2 separate regions of the Homo sapiens genome follow, and region 1 is linked to region 2. The links are contacts of gene promoters, found by promoter capture Hi-C in blood cells and fetal thymus (Javierre and others, 2016). All regions are on one chromosome and are shown on one strand. The core of a region is centred on a gene start or on the middle of the fragment in contact, and the rest is flanking DNA. Distances in the headings are between cores, read along the strand shown.

Region 1 (6,581 bases), core at 2,335-4,834, 190 kb after region 2:
TGCCTTCTGTATTGTGCAAACCCAGGCCGCCCACTCTGCCTCTCTTCATTCTCTGGTGGTGCAATGGCTCCTGGAGATGGGAGAAAGGAGAGTGAGCACACTCCTTGCTTCCTTCACCTGCAGAGACAGCCTTGCCTTTAGTAAACCAACATGTATGGCTCATCTGTGATGGTGGCCTATAAATTAGAGAAAAACACAAGACATTGCTATGTTTGATTAGTAACATTGGATGTTTCAGTCGCCCAAGAATTTAAATGCAGCTGGGCCCTTCTCCACCTTGCCTGTCCATCCATCCAGCAGAAATTTTATGATCTCAAGAAATTCATAGCGTGGTGGGGGAAACAGACACATAGACAGAATTTTTTTTTTTTTTTTGAGACGGAGTCTCGCTCTGTCGCCCAGGCTGGAGTGCAGTGGCGTGGTCTCAGATCACTGCAAGCTCTGCCTCCCAGGTTCACGCCATTCTCCTGCCTCAGCCTCCCAAGTAGCTGGGACTACAGGTGCCCACCATCACACCTGGCTAATTTTTTGTGCTTTTAGTAGAGATGGGGTTTCACCATGTTAGCCAGGATGGTCTCGATCTCCTGACCTCGTGATCCGCCCGCCTCGGCCTCCCAATGTGCTGGGATTACAGGCGTGAGCCACCGCGCCCGGCTACATAGAAAGAATTTTAAGATGGGATGACATGTTTCAGTTGAAGGATGGTCAGATCCCCCTGGGAACATCAGTGATGGAATGACCTGGAGGTTGTGGGACGGCATCGCAAAGGAGTGAGGAGGGAGCAGGGTCTGGAAGAAGGAGTCAGAATGGTGGCTGCAGAGGAGGGCAGGAGAGATGACAGTGCTTGAAACAGGCCGGTGGTCTCTGCTTCTTCACGCTCCCAGCAGCGTCTCAGGCATATTGACCAGAAGCTGCATGGACAAACTCAGCTATAAGTTTGCAAAATAAGCAGCTTACTTGGAATGGACTAAGTAGTTTACACTGACTTGAAGACCCTTGCATGCAGACATGTGCCTTAAGGATGAGATTTGGGTGGGAAGCAGTTCGAAGGCACATTGTATGGGGACAGGGTGATTCTGGAGGCTGAGGACTGGGATTTGAATCAAATGTTTGGATTTGGCCAAATCTCTTAATGTCCTGAACCCTCTGTGTTTTCATTTCTAAAATAGAGGTGACCATTTCTGCCCTTCCTGCCCCTCAGGAGCCTGAGAAAATCATGAGAGATGATCTAAGTTCCATCCATATGTTAGTTGCTATAAGGGCTCATCATTCATTCATATGTTCCAAGAAACTCTGGTTCAGGTCCTGCAGTCCTCAAAGGAGCCTCATGTCCCCTGTCCCCTGGGATCTACTCTTGGGGGATAGGGAGTGTCAGTGAGGCCTAGGGACAGCTTATGCACTTGGAGGGAGAGGTGCACCATCATCTCATCCTCCCTGCAACTAAGTTTTTCCTGGGGAAAAAGCCTGCAGACCAGGAAGTGGGAGGTGTCTGGTGGGACACTGCCCTCAAAAGGAGCCTTTCTGAGTGCTGGGGCTTCATCTGCCAGGGCTGCACCTCAGCAGGCAGTGGGCTCCCAGAGCTGGCTGCAGTAACCCGCAGGCTGTGCCGGCAGGATGTGGTCTTTGGTTTCTGTTTCTGTTTTAGTTCTGACTTGTGCCGTGGATGTGGCTGAGGGCCTAGGGTGGGGAGAAGTCTCCACAGGTGGGATTGAACTCCCCAGGCACATGGTCCTTGTGGTGCTGGTGGAGAGAGAGTCCCAGAGGGTTCGGACATGCTCCGTTAAAACCTTTTCCTCAAGGTGATAGGTACGTGTCAAGGTGACCCCTGTCCGCCATCCGGCAGGCTGGAAGAAGCCGGTAAGATGGACAGATCAGGGAGGGTTGGAGGGTCCCGTTTGTGAAGGAGCTGGGGAGGGGGAGGCAAGGCTGAGCACAGCAGCCCACTGTGATGCTCTCAGTGCAGAGGCCCCGGGGGGAGACCCAGGGGGGCACCCCCCAAAACCACACCATACAGTGAGTTTCAGTTCCCCCACTCCTGCCCTTTCACTTCTCCTCGGCTGCCTGGCTGCCTCACAGGTTGTCAGCTTGAGCAAGGGCCCAAGCGGCCTCTACTCAGAGACCCTGGTGGTCAGAGGGGAGTGGGGAAGGTGGACATGGGCATCAGCACAGACCAGCACCTCTGGTCCATCCTGCCTGGTCATCCACAGGGGAGTGCCAGCTCCCACCCCCAGCCACATACTGTTCTCAGCTTCTGAGTGGCTGGGCTGTCCCAGAGGGCCATGCTGGGCCTGAGTGCTGTCCTTGGGCATATGCAGATGGTGTTGTATCCAGGGGGTTTTCAGGGAAGCTTTAGCACTTTCATATTAAAACAAAAAATGTTGGAATCTCCATTAAATAGTCAAGTCTTAGGGATAGTAGTAAAAACATGGCTGTACATGGCTGGCCAGGCACAGTGGCTCACGCCTATAATCCTAGCACTTTGGGAGGCTGAGGTGGGAGGGTTGGCCAAGAGCTTGAGACCAGCCTGGTCAACATAGCAAGACCCGTCTCTACTTGATTTTTTTTTTTAAAGTACATGGCAAAGGGCATTATAAAGTAAGATTTGTATTAGCTTGTAGCTGGTTACTGATGTTCATAGGAAGGGCCTCAACCATAATAATGGTGAAATAATAAAATGAGATGAATAAATATTAGAGAGGTAGAATAGTACGTAGAAAGGTTTAGCACACATTTTGTTTTTCTGCACGAGTGGTTGTTCTCTGCTTTCAAAGTGCTGAAACGAATGTCCTACATTGTCTGCCTTCCATGAGGTTCTGACCGCCCTTGAGAACAGATGTACCCACTACAGGGTGAAGGTGAGAATGTAATTTGAAGCTGAATGAGAATGGAGCTGGATTCTAAAATTATATCCCCTCTCAGATTCACAAGTGTTCACACATTTAGGCAAGAAGCCCTAAGTCCTAACCCTGGACATGTGGATTGTCCAGGACCATCCCAGACTTTTGTGGCTGGATTAATCAGACCTGAGCAAACTGGATGCAAAGAGGAGGGGGTAGGTTCCGGGAAGGGGCCCTGGTGGCCAGGGTGGGATGAGTGTCTGGTGCTGAGCCCAGAGCCCAGGCCCTTGCAATGTTTTTCTTGGATCTGCTGGGGGCAGTTTAAGCTAATAAAAGCCTCCTCTTTTATTCCCAGGGACACATGGAAGCTGCCAGCCCCCCAGCCAAGGATCAGCTGAGCCCTAGGGCTGATGCTTGCCTACGTTGCTGAGAATGGCACTGAGGCCCAGCCAACAAAGGTTAACCCAGGACACTCCTGGACAGTGATCCTGATGTCTGTTGTGAGCTGCACACTCAAGGGTGTGATAAGTGAGTATGTTACAAGCACCCAGGGGATCACCAGCCCAGCGATCCTGCCTGCTCGGCACCTCATCAGCATGGGCACGAGTCTGGAGGTTCTAGTTCTGAGTCTGTTCCCCATCCAAGGTCCTGTCACAGGGCAATGGGAGGGGAATGTCAAGCAATATTGGGCCATCACATGCGGGAGCCGTCTTATGGCCACATGGCCTCTAAAATCCAGGCCAGACCCAGTGTATTAGTTTGTTTTCGTGCTGCTGATAAAGACATACGTAAGAGTGGAAAATGTATACAGAAAAAGAGGGTTAATTCCACGTGTCTGGGGAAGCCTCACAATCATGGTGGAAGGCAAGGGGAAGCAAGTCACATATTACAAGGTTGGTAGCAAGCAGAAAGAGAGCTTGTGCAGGGAAACTCTCCCTTATAAAACCATCAGATCAGCCGGGCACTGTGGCTCACGCCTGTAATCCCAGCACTTTGGGAGGCCGAGGTGGGTGGATCGCAAGGTCAACAGATTGAGACCATCCTGGCCAACATGGTGAAACCCCATCTGTACTAAAAATACAAAAATTAGCTGGGCATTGTGGCATGCACCTGTGGTCCCAGCTATTCAGGAGGCTGAGGCAGGAGAATCGCTTGAACCTGGGAGGCAGAGGTTGCAGTGAGCCAAGATCGTGCCATTGCACCCCAGCCTGGCAACAGAGCAAGACTCTGTCTCAAAACAAAACAAAACAAAAACCCATCAGATCTCATGAGATTTATTCACTATCACAAGAACAGCATGAGAAAGACCTGGCCCCATGATTCAATTACCTCCCACCCAGTTCCTCCCACAACATGGTGGAAATTCAAGATGAGATTTGGGTGAGGACACAGCCAAACCATATCATTCAGATTGTCTGGCGTGAGTGAAGCGAGCACTCACACCTGGGAAACAGCATCTACTTTGGCCGTCAGGCTTCAGATCTGTGCAGTGAGGACCATGCATCACCTGGGACTGGACTCTGCCCAGAAGCCATGAGCAATGCATGTGCTGCTGGTCTAGGAGGCCTGGAGTAGGGCATCCAGGGCCCTGGGAGGTGGGGGGATTTGTGAGCCTTAGCTGCCATAAGAGTGACCACCAGGGGATCTGGAGGAGCATGTCCTCTTGCTTTTGTCACATATCAGCAGCAGCATCTCCTCCTCAGCGAGACAAGCTCGAGGTAGGGTGAGAGGCTCCTAACTGCACAGCCCTGCCTGTCCTCACAGGCCTTTCTTTCCAGCCTCAGCCCCTGGCTTTTCCTTGATGATGCCTTAAAAAATGACAATTGGCTGCTTTCCCAACCCCCAGAGGCCTGTCTGGCCTGAAGGCTGTTATGTCTGTGCAGGGCCCGTAGCCTGGTGGGATCAGAGGCCTGCAGGAAGGAAGCTCCCCAGAAGGCATGGCAGGCAGAGCTGGGCTTTTGCAATCTTGAACAGACAAGCTTTTTTTGGAGTTCCTAGGCTGGTCCATGGGAACCCAGAGCTTCAGATTCCATGCAGGAATTTGCAGGGAGTAGAAAAGGGGTAATCAGGTCTTTTTCCACTTTAGGTAGATCTTGACTCTCCTAGTTGACAGTTTATAATTCAGGGCCAGAATCTGTTTTCCACTCAGCCTGGGCTTACAAAGTCAGTTTGACTGGAGAGTTTCTCAGGAAGTGTGTTCTTGAGTTGATTTGTAGCCAGGGTGGTGTGAGCAAGCCTAGACTGTAGGAGGGGAGTTGGGGGTAAAGAGATGGCCATGGGTGCCTCTGTGGGAACGTCGTTCCTCAGATGGGAGGCACATCTCCCCAGAGCAATTTATGCCATCAGCCTTAAGGCTGTTGTACCGTTTGGTTCAGTGATTCTCCTTCTGGAATTATCCATTAAGATATATTATTAGGAAATAGTACCAGAGAAGAAAAGGGCTGAATTCTTCCATTACAGGCATTAAAGGTAATTCTCGTTATATCATCTGTAGTAGTAGAAATGGGAAACAACTGTTCCCTTTGGACATCTAGGTTAAGTAAATTACAGTTTTCCGCTTGCTGGAATATTACACAGCCATTATAATAATGAGCACAGAGGCTATATAACAACTTGGAAAAACAGTTATGACAAGTAAAAATGGCAGGTTGCAGAATAAGTATATTATGGTGACTTGTAAAATACACACATAGGAAAATATTGCAAAGGAGAAATGGTAATCGCTGTTAGTTCAGAATTATGAGTGCTTTTTCTTTTTTTTTCTTTATTAGAAATGAGGTCTCACTATGTTGCCCAGGCTGGTCTCAAACTCCTGGGCTCAAGCAGTCCTCCCGCCTCAGCCTCCCAAAATGCTGGGATTACAGGTGTGAGCCCCCATGCCCGGCCTATGAATGCTTCTTCTATGATGCATGGATTGGCTTTTTAAAAAATAAAATTGAATCCGGATGACTACACAACATACCATTAATAGTGACTTTCTCTAAGATGTGTGATTACAGGGAACTTTTGCTTTCTATGTCATTCTGTAATGTTTAAATTTCAGCTGTGAGCACATGTTGCTTTTATAATTAGAAAAAAAATTAAATGCTAGAATTAAATGTTTTAGAAGGCTATATTTCTCAAGAAAGGAGGGAAGAGAGACCGAGGCAGCTAGCTGTTTATACCTGCCCTCATCAGTGTTTAAGGGCCTGGGCCTGTTTGGGCCCACTCATCCATCCATTCATTCCACAAGTATTACTAGGTATTATTGCCAGGCACCACTCTAGGCACTGACTAAACAGCAGTGAACAAGACAGTGCCCCTGCTCTCATGAAGTTTTCATTCTAGTTGAGGAGAGACAGACCATAAATAAGTAGCAACATATCAGAAAGTGAAAGTGCTATGTAGAAAATAAAATGGAATGATGTGAGTGACAGAGAGGCTATTTTGGACTGGGGATCAAAAGTCCCTGAGATATGACAGCTCAGCTGAGATCTGAATGGTAACAGCAAGGCAGCCACATACAGGTCTGGGATGCCAGCCTGCCAGTCCCCCGTGCAGGGCATCCTTCGCTTTCTGAGCCCCAGGGACCTCTGTGCCAGAACTGACTCCATCCCCCAAGCCCACTCACCCTGCCCTGCCTCCTGCTGCGGTTTGCTTGGGATCTGAGGCCCCCTGAAATCCTCTGTGTTCGGACCGCTCCTCCTGACATGCTGGCTGTTGCTCCTCTGGGCAGCTGGCCCCTGCTCTTGGCTGGTGTCTCCA
Region 2 (6,543 bases), core at 988-3,487:
TTTTGATTATTTTTTGTTTTCATTTACCAGAATAAAAACTAAGAATTAAAAGTTTGATTACAGTCAAAAGAAGAAAACACTGTTCATTATTATGGTTGTGCAATGATTTCTCATTCTAAAGAATAATTTGTTCCAGAGTCTAGCTACAGTGTAATCTCAATCCACATGCTATTAATTTAGGTTGTGTGATAATCTAATTGTTCATTCACCATTTCCTACTTAACCTTTTTTGACACTCTTCACAGACACTTTTTCCACATTTCTTGATCATCCCGGGCCATTTTTTTTTCCTTTCTTTTTAATTAGAGACAGCGTCTTGCTTTGTTGCCCAGGCTGGCCTCAAACTCTGGGCTCAAGCGATCCTCCCACCTTGGCCTCCCAAAGTGCTGGGGTACAGGTGTGAGCCGCAGCACCCGGCCCCAGGCTATTGATCCTTTTTTTGCACCTGCCCCTTATTTCTGTACTGTGACAAGTCCCAGCATTGTGCTGTGGGACTTACACAGTATACTGACTATCCTCAGACTTGGTCATGTCTATGCTCAGTGCATATTAAGAGCTTAACCAAAGTGTGTTGAATCAACAGCCAATGAACTTGATCTAATAAAAATGAGGGCCCAGGAGATACAAATTAGCAAAGCATTTTCTCCTGAGCAGTCATACATCTTTTAATATTTGTAGGCAGTTTAAAATTGAACTCCCAAGCAAACATTTGAGAACAGACACCTTGAGCAAACCGTGAAATCGGTGAAAATAATAATTTATTTTAATTTTTTGAGATAGGGTCTTCTCTGTCACCCAGGCTGGAGTGTGGTGGCACGATCTCAGCTCACTGCAACCACTGCCTCCCGGGTTCAGGCGATTCTCCTGCCTCAGCCTCCCGAGTAGCTGGGGTTACAGGCGCCCACCACCACGCTTGGCTAATTTTTGTGTTTTTAGCAGAGACGGGGGTTTCACCATGTTGGCCAGGCTGGTCTTGAACTCTTGACCTGAAGTGATCCGCCCGCCTCGGCCTCCCAAAGTGCTGGGATGACGCGTGAGCCACCATGCCCGACGTGAAGACAGGAATTTATACCCATGGAGTGCAAGAAGGGACCTTGTAATTTTTAACACGTGACACTTAGTGGCAGATGAGACCTAATGAAGCCAGGCCCACCTTCCACACCAGATTATAAATTCCCCTGGAGCAGAGATTAAATGTTTTATTCACCAACATGCCCAGATCCCTCGCAATGCCTACGCTTGACAAACACCTGTTGTCAACAAGTGCACGAGGCAGCCTAGGAGGAGAATTAGTCTCCACGAGGAGAATTACTCGGGCCTAGCAGCTAGAGTATTTCGAGGTCATCCTAACTGGGTTCCACTTTTGAATTTTTGGTTTTTGGGTTTTTTGTTTTTTTGGAGACAAGATCTCGCTCCACTTGGGAGCAAGGTCTCCCAAAGCTGGAGTGCAGTGGTGGGACCTCAGCCTCCGGGGGTAGCTGGGGCCAAAAGTGCGCGCCACCATGCCCGGTTCTTATTTTGGGTTTCTGGTAGAGCTCTCGCTATTGTGCCCAGGCTGGTCTCGAACTACTGGGTTCAAGCAATCCTCCCACCTCGGCCTCCCAAAGTACTGGGATTACAGGCGCGAGCCACTCGCCCGGCCGGGTTCCACTTCTGAAAGCTTGGGGAGCCGCTGGGCCTTCCAAGAAAAGTGCTCCACCTCCCGACGGCAGGCAGAGCCCCTGGCCCGGCTATCTTTCCAGGGCCGAAAGCTAACAGTCAAGACGCGAAACGAGGAATTCGGGTCAGGGTGGCAAAGCAAAGCGCGATGACAGTGAGGACGACGTCTAGACGCAAACATACATCAAATCGGGCCGAAGCCCGCTGTCGCCGCGCGGGCTGAACCTGGCACCCGGAGCAACGCGCGACCCCGGGACGAGACGCTCTCGTCCGAGCCAAACTACATCCCCCGGCGTGCACTGCAGCGCCCGCCCCTCGCCGGCCGGCGGGGCCCGGGAGGAAGGCGGCCGCGCTGCCAGTCCCGCAGGTCCCCTAGGCCCCTTTCGCTGCGGCCTTTCCCCAACCCGGACCCGGCACTTCTCGGGTTCCGCGACTGCCGATCGCCCCGGCGCGGCACCGCTCCCTCAGGAGTCGCCTAGGCCGCGCAGTCTCCCGACTTCTCGTCAGGCTTTCGCGCCGGCGCTCCAGCAATCACTGGCTGGAGAAGGTGGGCGTTCCGGCTCGAGAGGACCCTGCCGCGGCTCCGGAAGAGCCTCGTCCTGGGCGGCGGTGGTGCGGCGGTCGCCGTTATGGCCACTGGGCTGGGCGGCTGACCGCCGGGCTAGGAAAGGGCCCAGGGCCCCGAATCTCGGTGGCCGCTGCTCCAGCGCGGCCTGCGCCATGGCCTCCTCCGCCGCCTCCTCGGAGCATTTCGAGAAGCTGCACGAGATCTTCCGCGGCCTCCATGAAGACCTACAAGGGGTGCCCGAGCGGCTGCTGGGGACGGCGGGGACCGGTGAGGCGGGGGTGGGCCACGCCGTGGGGAGCGCAGCCCTGCGCGCTTTGGAAGGAAGATTCTCCCACCTTCCTCCCAGACCCGGGCCCGCGTCTCCTCCCTCCGCGTCCTCAGACACGCCCCCTAGGGCTGGCTTGTCCCAGCCCCAGGTCTCCCTGCTGCCACTGAGAGTAAATTGGACCTCGGGATTCAGTTCCCTGGGATCCTTCTATGGCCTTCCACATTTTCTCATCTTTTTTCACTGTGGCAAATAGAGCAGAGGGGCTTTTGCATCTGCGGTCCTGTAATGTAGAGTGGGTTTCTTTCATAGCTGTTTTTGTTTGTTTTATGCATTTAAAAGCACTAGTCTCAAGACAGGTCTAGTTTTCACCAGACTGACAGAGGATCCGTAGCACAGAAAAAGGGTTAAAAACCCAAAGGAGTCATAATTTGGGGGTGTTGGTAAATACCAGTTATTGGAGGGTAGAGAGCTGGCCTTTAAAACCTGATTGTGGCATTTAGATGTGGTCTTGTTTTGAACGTTTTTACAGCTGAGACTGTTTACTACCCCTTAATTTCATGATTCAGGTTGCTACAAGTTCTGTCTGGAGGAGCTAGAGTTTTCCGGCCCTAAATCCATAGGAAAAGCTGCTATAGTTCTTGGCCTCCGGATATATAGAATTTGATGGCAAGGACAAAACTTTGTTTTATTGCTTTTATTTAAGAGTCAGAGCTTGGGTGTTTGCTCAACGAATTACTCAAGGTCATAGGAATTGAATGACTGGTGAGAATGAAATTCATGTATTTAATATATATTTATTGTGAGGCTGCTGTGTGCTAGGTGCTGGTGAATTGTGAGGCACCGTTCTAGGTGCTGGTGAATATTGCAAATTACAGTGAAAAAGATACGAACATCCCCATTCTAGTGGGTAGGTGATAAACAATATATAACTATTAAGAGGCAGTGTTAAAGAATACAGGAAAGTAAATCAGAGTAAAAGAATAGGGGATGGGACTTCAGTTTTATTTTATTATTTATCATTTTTTTTTTTGAGACAGGGTCTCACTCTGTCACCCAGGCTGGAGTGCAGTGGCACGATCTCGGCTCACTGCAACCTCCACTTCCCAGATTGAAGCAATTCTCCTGCCTCAGCCTCTGGAGTAATAGGGATTACAGTTGCGCCACCACCCCTAGCTAATTATTTTTGTATTTTTAGTAGAGACAGGGTTTTGCCATGTTGGCCAGGCTGATCTCTAACTCCTGACCTCAAGTGATCCGCCTTCTTTGGGACTTCAGTTTTAAATAGGGCGGTTGTGAAAGTCCTCTCTGAGGAGATGGCGTTTGAACAGAGACTTAAATGAAGTGAGGGAGTAAACCAGAAATCAGGGAGAAGTGAGTGTCAGAAGGAGGGAATAGCACTGCAAATGCCTTTAAGCAGAAATGAGCTTGGTGTGTTCAGCGAAGAGCAGGAAGTTCCATGTGTTTGGGATGGAGTGAGCAAAGGAGAGCGATAAGCAGGGCCAGATCATGTAGGGCCTTGTGGACCATGGTGAAAGACTTGTGCCTTTTTCTAAATATGATGGGATGCAGTTAAAAGATACTGTGCAGAAGCATTGTGGGATCTGATTTATGTGATTGAAAAGTAGACTGCAGGCAGGGTACGGTGGCTCACACCTGTAATTCCAGCACTTGGGGAAGCCGAGGCGGGCGGATCACTTGAGGTCAGGAGTTCAAGACCAGCCTGGCCAATATGGTGAAACCCCATCTCTACTAAAAATACAAAAATTAGCCGGGCATGGTGTCAGTTGCCTGTAGTCCCAGCTACTCAGGAGGCTGAGGCAGAATTGCTTGAACCCAGGAGGCGGAGGTTGCAGTGAGCCGAGATCATGCCACTGAACTCCAGCCTGGGCAACAGATCAAGACTCTGTATCAAAAAAAAAAAAAAAAGAAAAGAAAAGAAAAAAAAGTAGACTGCAGGCCAGGCATGGTGGCTCACACCTGTAATCCCAGCACTTGGGGAAGCTGAGGCAGGAGTATTGCTGTGTTGAACGATTTTGAGACCAGCCTGGGCAACATGGTGAAACCTCATCTCTACAAAAAATAAAAAAATTAGCCAGGCATGGTGGTGCATGCCTGTAGTCCCAGCTCCTGGGGAGGCTGAGGTGGGAGGATCACTTGGGCCCTGGAGCTGGAGGTTGCAGTGAGCCAAGATCGCACCACTGCACTCTAGCCTGGACCACAGAGCAAGACTCTCCCAAAAAAAAAAAAAAATGTAGACTGCATTTTCAACCTGGCACTGAATTAATTTTTGCAATGCCCATTTCTATAAGTCTAAATAATGCAAAAGAACATTGCTTTGAAAAATAGAAAATTGAATTCATTATTACTATGGTTTGAATGTCCCCCTCTAAAACTTATGTTGACATTTATTTGCTATTTTAATCGCATTAAGAGGTGGGACCCATAAGAAATGATTAGACCATGAGGGCTCCATCCTCAGAGATTAGATTGTTATCCTGAGAGTGGCTTGGTTGTTGAGAGAGTGGGTTAGTTCAGCCCTCTCTTGCTTGCCTGCTCTCTTGATCTGTTGCCCTTCCATCTTCTGCCATGGGGTGACCCATGGGTAGCAAGAAGGCCCTTGAAAGAATCAGCCCTCTCAGCCTTGGGCTTCCCAGCCTCCAGAACTCTGAGAAATACATTTATTTTCTTTATAAATTACCCAGACTCAGCTATTCTGTTATAGCAACATAAAGCTAAGATAGTTACATTCACCTTTGTTGTCTACCCAGCCTTTTTCTCCATCCTGCAAAGAGGACAATCAGAAATATGTGAATTTCTTTTCTTTTTTCTTTCTTTTTTTTGTTTTTTTGAGATAGAGTCTTGCTCTGTCGCCCAGGCTGGAGTGCAGTGGTACAATCTCAGCTCACTGCAACCTCCACCTCCTGGGTTCAAGTGATTCTCATGCCTCAGCCTTCCGAGTAGCTGGGATTACAGGCGCATGCTACCACACCTAGCCAATTTTTGTATTTTTAGTAGACACGGGGTTTCACCATGTTGGCCAGGCTGGTCTCAAACTCCTGACCTCAAGTGATCTGCCCGCCACGGCCTCCCAAAGTGCTAGGATTACAGGTGTGAGCCACTGCGCCCAACCACAAAATACTCTAAGTTGCTGGTAACAGACATAGTTGTTTAATGGATAAGTAAAGAAAATATATACATATCCCTAGAATTATAATAAGTCCAACAACTTTACCTCTTATTCACTACCTCATTCACACTGCTCAATAAATGTTTGTTGAATAAATTGAATTTATCTAAGCAAACACATGGTGCCTCATCTCTGAATCCTCTTTTTCTAGTTCAGAGACCACATCATAAAGTTTTCAGAGCTTTAATGCCCATCATGAATTATTAGGCACAGCATAATGTACATAATACAGTCCTTGCATGTAGCTTATGCTCTGTAATTGAATTCAGTCATTTTTCAATAAACACTGAGAATTATTATGTATCAGCCACTGTCTAGGCTCTGAGGACTTCCAGAGTTCTTACCTTAAAAAGAAACAAACGGCCGGGCACGGTGGCTCATGCTGGTAGTCCCATCACTTTGGGAGGCCTAGGCGGGCGGATCACAAGGTCACGGATGGAGACCATCCTGGTCAACATGGTGAAACCCCATCTCTACTCAAAATACAAAAATTAGCTGGGTGTGGTGGCATGTGCCTGTAGTCCCAGCTACTCAGGAGGCTGAGGCAGGAGAATCGATTAAACCCAGGGGGCAGAGATTGCAGGCGACAGAGCGAGACTCTATCTCAGAAAAAAAAAAAGGTAACAAACCTTACAACCAAGTGTGTGATTAATCCTAAAATAAAGTTCTCTGAGACCATAAAAAGGGCTGGACTTGAGCATGGGGAAGAGGGGGAAGCTTCAAAAAACTTCAAACTGAATATAAGGGATTGAATGGGAGTTTGCTAGATGGGAAATGCGAAGAGGCAACACAGGAGTAAAACATGGAATACTCCCAACTCTGGAGCTTAGAATGTATGTGGGAAAGTAGTAGTAGAGGGGC

Evidence for each region. Contacts are between HindIII fragments. The CHiCAGO score rates a contact against its expected background, and 5 or more counts as called.
Region 1: a contact is called between a fragment that was not itself captured here and the fragment with the promoter of VTI1B in region 2, in 1 of 17 cell types (total CD8 T cells). The highest score is 5.2, in total CD8 T cells.

Annotation. Positions count from the first base shown.
Region 1 is chr14:67,483,784-67,490,364 of GRCh38, reverse strand. TMEM229B (transmembrane protein 229B) reads left to right here and starts at 1,644. Exons shown (of 3, transcript NM_001348543.2): 1 at 1,644-1,857; 2 at 3,193-3,365. It also overlaps a transcript of GPHN not described here. RefSeq lists enhancers at 1,513-1,932, 1,570-2,069, 2,233-2,302. The HindIII fragment of the contact is 2,469 bases long and covers 2,350-4,818 here.
Region 2 is chr14:67,670,326-67,676,868 of GRCh38, reverse strand. VTI1B (vesicle transport through interaction with t-SNAREs 1B) reads left to right here and starts at 2,237. Exons shown (of 6, transcript NM_006370.3): 1 at 2,237-2,494. The coding sequence starts at 2,380. RDH11 (retinol dehydrogenase 11) reads left to right here. Exons shown (of 7, transcript NM_016026.4): 7 at 1-69. It also overlaps a transcript of GPHN not described here. RefSeq lists silencers at 1,913-2,352, 2,453-2,562. The HindIII fragment of the contact is 4,739 bases long and covers 1,663-6,401 here.